2 separate regions of the Homo sapiens genome follow, and region 1 is linked to region 2. The links are contacts of gene promoters, found by promoter capture Hi-C in human tissues and cell types (Jung and others, 2019). All regions are on one chromosome and are shown on one strand. The core of a region is centred on a gene start or on the middle of the fragment in contact, and the rest is flanking DNA. Distances in the headings are between cores, read along the strand shown.

Evidence for each region. Contacts are between HindIII fragments. The study calls those that stand out against the background at their distance.
Region 1: a fragment that was not itself captured here is called in contact with the fragment with the promoter of SPDL1 in region 2 in 4 of the 25 tissues and cell types used here (aorta, mesenchymal stem cells, mesendoderm cells and 1 more).

The regions. Positions count from the first base shown.
Region 1 is chr5:169,043,129-169,046,897 of GRCh38, reverse strand. All of the region lies in intron 4 of SLIT3 (slit guidance ligand 3), which reads left to right. Among named protein-coding and RNA genes, the nearest start is that of SLIT3-AS1, 32 kb to the right of the region's middle. The HindIII fragment of the contact is 7,762 bases long and covers 1-3,769 here.
Region 2 is chr5:169,581,677-169,585,319 of GRCh38, reverse strand. SPDL1 (spindle apparatus coiled-coil protein 1) reads right to left here and starts at 1,547. Exons shown (of 12, transcript NM_017785.5): 1 at 1,431-1,547. It overlaps LOC105377714 (a long non-coding RNA gene), which reads left to right and starts at 1,659. Exons shown (of 3, transcript XR_941200.3): 1 at 1,659-1,937. RefSeq lists an enhancer at 920-1,920. The HindIII fragment of the contact is 9,913 bases long and covers 1-3,643 here.

The sequences.
Region 1 (3,769 bases), core at 1,118-3,617, 540 kb after region 2:
CAGCTGCTGAGTAGGGGCACAGGCCTGGAGAGAGGGCTCTGGAGCAGAGGGGTGCTGGGGAAGGGTGCAGAAAAGGGAGGAGAAGAATTATCTCTAAGAAGAAATCACTTTTGATTTTAATTTTACACACATGGGGCTCATAATACTCTCAAGAACATGCTCAGCAATGAAGGAAGATAGAGAGATAAGAGCAAGCCTCCCTTTATGGTAGGCTGGGGGACACTGTTGCTTTCTGCGGAGCAGTCTCCAGCGCCCAAAAGGAATGTGTTTTTGGTGCAAGGCAAGGAGAAAGTGATTCTCAACCCTTGCATGGCTTTCTTCGTGCCTTCCTAAATGTGCAGTTTACCTCTCAGTTCTGATCTGCTCCAAGTGTAGGGATAGGATTATGGATCCGGAGACATTTTAAATATCCAAAGAGAATGTTGCTCTCTCTCTTGCATTTTATTCTTATTTACTTAGCTACTGACTTGCTTTTAAAGCAATGTCAAAGGGAATCTATATGTTCTGCAGTGTATCTGATTCTGGAGTCTCACCTCCTTTCTTGTGTTAATTTAGGAATGTTTCATTTCTGCAAAACTAGTGCTGCGATCTTTGCTTTTCTATGCATGCCTTTCATCTGGTGCTCACAATGTGCTGTACAGATGTTTCACTGCCAGACCCTACTGCCCCCTAATTTGCTTTGTGATTCCTGGCTAGTTACAGTCCCTCTAGGCAATACCACCTCTTTACCTATACCAAAGCACAAAAATAAGGCACCTTTTGGGGGGTAGGGAAGGGGTCTCCCTCCATACACTGTCTCCTACTTCTTTGTCCATCATCAAATCCTTCTCATACTCTGGCTTCCCTGTTCAGTCTGTGTGACTCCCATTCATCAAGTGATAAATTCAATCATTAATTCAATATGTCCGTAGTGAGTGATATATTATACTAAGAACTGTGCCTGTTGTATCCCTAGAGATATAGCAATGCACAAAACACAGTCAGTTACTGCGTCTAAGTGCTCACTAAATGTAGTGGGTGAAATGAATGAAAAGTGAGCACAAACTTAACAATCTGACTCGGTGTATGGTAAAATCGGAGGACTCACCAGGTGCTATGGGAACATGAAGTGTAGGCCACAAACTCTTCTTAATTAGGCAGAGAATGCTTCCTGTAGGATGGAAGAGCTTGCTGTGGTTTGGCTCCTGGGTCTGCAGTTTACAAGCTGTTTGACTTTGGGCAAGTCACTGTACACCTCTGTGCATTTAAAATGTGATAATGATGTAAAAACTTAGTACAGCACCTATCACATAGTAAATACTCATATACACATATTCATTCACTCCTTCTTTCAGTAAAAATCATCTATTGAATACCTACCGTGTGTCAGGCAATGCCCTGGAAAGTGTGGATGGTGCACCCAGGTCTTGAAATACTAATATTTCCAGGAAATAAACTACATCATCTCAGTTCTTTTTTTTTTTTTTTTTCCTGCATGGACTACACTTGGAAGAAGTCTTTGAAGTAACAATAGTAGAAGTTCTTTTTTGCTGTCTGTTGAAGCAGCAACTCAGAGGATTTTCCTAGGTGTGAGGGAAAGCCCGGGCAGTGAGGAAGTAGCAAGTGAAGCTGTGCCCAAGTTGCACGTTTAGGGTTTTCATCTCACCAGCAGCTCCAGCCTACAGGAGTCACCCCTCCCAACCCCCATCCCTGTCTCAAATTAAGGTCTGCTTCACATAGCAGGGCACAACAGGAATGCATTGTCGTCTTCTGTTGCTGTCACAAGTGGTCTGAAAACCTTTAAGCTGTGCAATCCCCCACTGCTGCTGAATACTTGAAGTTCTTCTATGAAACCTTAGCATGACCCCGCATCTCTGGTGCTGCTTCATCTCGCAGAAACCTGTGAACCATGGAGGAGTTCTTCTCATCCCGTGATGGACAGAAGGCTGCTTCTTCAGAGAGAGAAGTATGAGCAGTGGGAAGCTAAGGAAGCTTACACTGTTGTTGATGATCAAAAAATGCAGCAATAAGCACTATCCTTCTCCAGGCCCAGAAACAGAGCTGGGGTCTACAGGCCAGTTGAATTAAAAAGGGGAAGCCCCACTGTTTAGAGACATTCTCTTTCTAGCAACCCTGGCCCTTTCTTTTTTCCTTCTTTTTTTCTTGAGATATAGTTTAACATAAGATTCACCATCTTAAATTATATCATTCAGTGCTTTTTAGTCTATGCACTATGTTGTGTGACCATCACCACTGTCTAATTCCAGAGCATCCCATCACCCCAAAGAGAAATCTGGTACCCATTAACAATTTCTCCCCATCCCCCCCCCCACCTTCCTCCAGCCCCCAGCAAATACTAATCTACTTTTTGTCTCTATGGATTTGCCTATTCTGGGTATTTCATAAAAATGGAATCCTGCAGTATGTGGCCTTTTATGTCTGACTTCTATCATTTAGCATGTTTTCAAGATTCATCTGTAATGCAGCATGTATCGATACTTCATTTCTTTTTATGGCTGAATAATATTCCATTGCATGTTCCACCTTTTGGCTATCATGAATAATGCTGCTGTGAACAATGATATGCAAGTTTCTGTGTGCATGTATGTTTTCAGTTGTATTAGGTATATACATAGGAGCAGGATTACTGGGTCACATGGTAATTCTATATTTAACTTTCTGAGGAACTGCCAAACTGTTTTCCACAATGGCCACGCCATTTATATTCATACCAGCAATGTATGCATGTTTCAGTTGGTCCACATCCTTGCCAACACTTGTTATTGTCCTTTTCATTTTTAGCATAGACATCCTGGTGGGTGTGAGGTGGTGCCCTTGCTTCTGTGCATTGATTTGGCCACTTTAGCCTTTATCTACTACTTCTCTCTACTCAGGGTAGTCTCCTATCAGAATAAGTTTCTCTGATCTGGGATCCAGAGTATTTCCTAAATGGAAAGGAAGATATGAACAGTTTTTAACATGTTCTGTCGTAGTTATGTCATTCTTACTGTTGACTTGACCAGAGTCTGCATCATCCCAATCTTGAGCTCCCAGTTCGGATGACTCTCACTGCTGTTTGCTAATTATAAGGCCTACCTTTGGTAAGGCAGAGATAGCTGTTCCCTCTTAAATCAGCCACTCTTCTTGCCCAGACAACTGGAGTGGGGAATGGAGAAACTCATTGCTTTCTCTCACAGTCTCTTGCTTCTCTTTATTGCTAAGCCAAGGGGTTAATGAAATATACAAAGAGCTCTTGTTTGAAAGAAATTAAAATCAGAGCATAATCACATCAAGGCCTGCTACTCAAAAATTCGTGATCCCTTGAACATAGCTCATATAAAGTGTTTTCAAAAGAGAGTTTGATAGGCAAGTTATCAAGTTATACTTAACCAACTTAAGGGAACAAAGTATTTTCATGCATTTTAGTTGGGTGTTTCTATTGCCTTTATACAGTGGGGTTAAGACTTATAATTATTCTTATCATTGAAGGAAGTCCTGAAGGATCTGCATCAAACAGTGAAACTACCAACTCATTATGTGTACTTGTGGGTAATCTGTGGATATGTTGTAATTCAAACTTTTCTAGCAAATTTAAACTATAATGTGTCTCAACCAGCCCAAATTAATGAGGCTTTGGAGTATGACCATTGAATCTAATTACTAACAAGACCTAAATGAAGTGCAAAGCAAAACTGACTTTGGCTTTGAATTCCAGGTCTGCGCTGGCTGTATGACCTCGGGCAAGTCATTTTTTTTCTCTAGTATAAAATGAGATTCTGATATGTAGGTT
Region 2 (3,643 bases), core at 298-2,797:
TAAAAGACATTAAATCAAGTAATTGAACTATCAAGTTACAAGTATGATAAGTGCAAGAGAGACAGATGTATGCTACCTGAGCCTGTAACAAGGGGGAGCTGTCCTAATCTGGGGGGCAGCGCGTAGAAGGGAACATGGACAAAAAAATTTTCCTGAGGAAGTAACTTTTCAGCAGAGGTCTAATGGATGAGAAAGAGTTAACCTATCAATCTACAAAGAGAGATAGCCGTGGTTGATTAAAAACTACTAATGTGTGACAGACATTGTGCTTGGTGCTTTATACACATTCTTTTTTTTTTTTTTGAGACGGAGTCTCGCTCTGTCGCCCAGGCCAGACTGCGGACTGCAGTGGCGCAATCTCGGCTCACTGCAAGCTCCGCTTCCCGGGTTCACGCCATTCTCCTGCCTCAGCCTCCCGAGTAGCTGGGATTACAGGCGTGAGCCACCGCACCCGGCCGCTTTATACACATTCTTATTCAATCTTCTCAACAACTTCAAGAGGTTGAAGGTATTTCCCTCATTTTACACATGCAAGCTGAGGCATAGAAAGTTTTAAGTAACTTGCTTAGGGTTACCCGCAAGTTAAGACGCGAAGTGTGATGGGAACTAGAATCTACCTAGAAACCATGGTGCTGCAACCATTTTTCCTGTCCTGCTTCTCAAAAATATAGCACACACAAAGCATTTGGGACACAGGAAACTCTGGGAATCAAACTGCCTGAGTTCTTACCCCGCCTCCACTACTCACTGGCTGCATGAACTTGGACAAGTTATTTAATTTCTGGTTTAATCATCTATAAAAACAAGCACAATAACACCCACCTAATCGGTTACTGAAAGGATTAAATGAGATAACGAATGAAAAGCAATTAGGGTAGAATCTGACACACGGCTGGGGCAGTGCTGTCCAGCAGAAATATAACGCGAGTCATGTACGTGATTTTAAATGTTCTAGGAGCCATCATGATTTAAAAAGTAAACAAAGATGAAAAATTAATTTACATATTTAAACAAATACACTCAAAACATCATTTCAACATGTAATCATTATAAAAATTATTAATGAGATATTACTCCTTATGCGCTATCTCTGAAACCCAATATGTATCTCCCATCTGCACCATTTCTTAGTTCGGGCTAGAGGCTACCGTACCGCACAGCGCAGATCCAGTGGCGGTTATAATTTTGAGGACCCGGCAACCGACCCAACGTTCCATATTTGTCCAGAATCCCTGAGGGCGGCGAGGTGGTCCAGCGGAAGATAAGACCGGCTCGGAACCCAGTGTATAAGACCCCAGGGTTCCGGGGAAGGAGATGTTTCAGCTAAAGGCCTCGGCCGAGACCCCGGCCCCTAGCTTTCTTTAGGGCCTGTTCGACTCTCCCCACTGCCGCTCTCCACACCCACCTCCCACCAGGCCCCTTGCCCCTACCTCTCACGCTAGTCCCCTGCTGCCGCAGCCAGCGGCTCCTAATGGGAGCTCAGGGCGTCCACATTGAGGACGCTAACTCCACAGTCGCCGGCCCATTCGCTCAGCTAGCTCTCGAGTAAGCGCCTGGGATATTTGAATGCAGTTCCCGCGAGAAGTCCCACGTCTCACGAGACGTCCGCCCAAGCCGCGCGGAAAGGAAAAACCAAGAGAAACGCCCAATGGAGCGCCCACCCCCTCCTACAGCTACTGCGCATGTGCAAGTGGCGCGCCGTGGGCTTGGCGCAGGCGCAGGCGCAGACGTGGCTCCACATAAATTTTTCCTTGGGCTGGTTTCCTGCATGTCTTTTAAGTATTTGCTTTTAGTTTCCGTGTTTTGGTGTTTTGTTTGTTCGTTTTTTTTTTTTTTTTGTTTTTACGACAATGCCTTCTAGGGGAACAGTGTCGCTGGGCTGGGCGGTGGAGAGACACCTTTGGCACCATCGTGCGATCTCATGCACCCTACCAGTGGTAATACTGGCGTTAATATTTAAGTTCCCACCATGTGTTAAAGTTTACAGATTATCTCAGTTAAGCCCGCAGCCTTATGAGGCAGATATTACTCCTCGTTTTCTACAGAGAAAAAGCCCGAAGAAAAAAAGTGCCTTGTCCAAGTGGTAGAACTAGAATTGAATGCAGTCTTAGAGTCCAAGCTGTTTGCATGTGTTTTTAATAATAATATTTTGTAACCCTGATGCCTATTCAAAAATTGAAGCGATCAGAAATAATAATAGATAACATTTAATGAGCACTGATGAGTCCTAGTAACTGTTACATGAATCATGTCGTTCTTTCGAGCCCATCTTTTCTTGCCTATTTGAGAACTTGGCTCTAACTGCTCTTTTTTGCATCTTCAGTTTTTTCTTCTCTATTGGATCTTCCCTATCAGTTCATAAACATGCTGCAGTGATTGCCATAAAATCATTTCATGATTTCATTTTTTAAAAAATCCTCCTTGACACCAATCGGCAACCACCCCATTTGTTTTCTTCTCTTTATAACAAAATTTCTGGGGAAAAAAAATCTTTACATCCATTATCTCCATTTTCTTACCTTTTGTTCTTTTGTTTGTTTTTCCCACTTTAACCAGGATTTGGTCCCAACCAATACTATGAAGTGGCTCTTGTTAGGTTTACCAGTGATTCCTACCTTGCAAAATTCGGTAGTCAATATTTAGTCCTCACTTCTGGTGAAATTTGACAGAGTTGCTTGCTCTCATTGATTTGAGTCTTTATGTCTTGGGATGCCACACTCTCCTTGCCCTCTTCTTCTCAGTTTCTTTTGCAGACTACAATTTCTGCCTGAGCTAAGCCAGACTCAAAGGGTTGATCTGAGCTTTAAGATTGGCAACAAATTGCTCACAGTGTTGTCTCACAGATTTATCTGGGACTCCAATGAACCAGATGCTCATTCATTTGTAATCACACCTATGTTCTTGGAGAAATGAAACAAATACCATTTTCCCTATCACTGAACAAAGATTCCTTAACTCAGGGGCCAGGAAAAGATTGTTCTAGCTTAGGCCAATCATGACTGGCTGCAATTAGGTAATCTAAAATCGATCTGAACTTATTTTTTCTCCTTTGTTACAAGAGAAGGTATACCCTATGTTATTAATGTTTCTTCCTATTCTATTTTAAAAATATGTATTTTAAACTATTAATTGAGTGACTGCAATGTGTTAGGCATAGTGGAGGAATTCAGAGATGTGGTAAACTCGACTATTGCCTAGAAGATGCTCGCAATATAGTAGGAGATTTTAAAAAACAAATAGAACTTACAGGGCTGTAAATGCTATGCAAGTGGTATGTGCCCCACACTAAAGGAGTTGTGTGAAGGGAGAGGTATATTTTGTCTAAATGTTCCTTTAAAACTTCCCAGTGCATGTGACACTTCAAGCAGGGCCTTGAAGGATGGCAGAGCTAAGGAGGGGTGCATTCTAGGGGAGGGGACAGCATTAGGAAAGTCTTAGAGGTTACCCCATGTCATAATAAAGGTCATTCTTTAGGGATGGCCTGAATACAGGACTGCCAATACCACCACTGGACGCTAGATGTCACAAGTGAAATGAATTCTAGATGGGTTCTACTTTTAAGATAACTTAATGGAACTTCTGATTCACAATACCAGATGCAGATCTCCGTACTCAGGCAAGGTCCGCATACCATGGCCTAAAT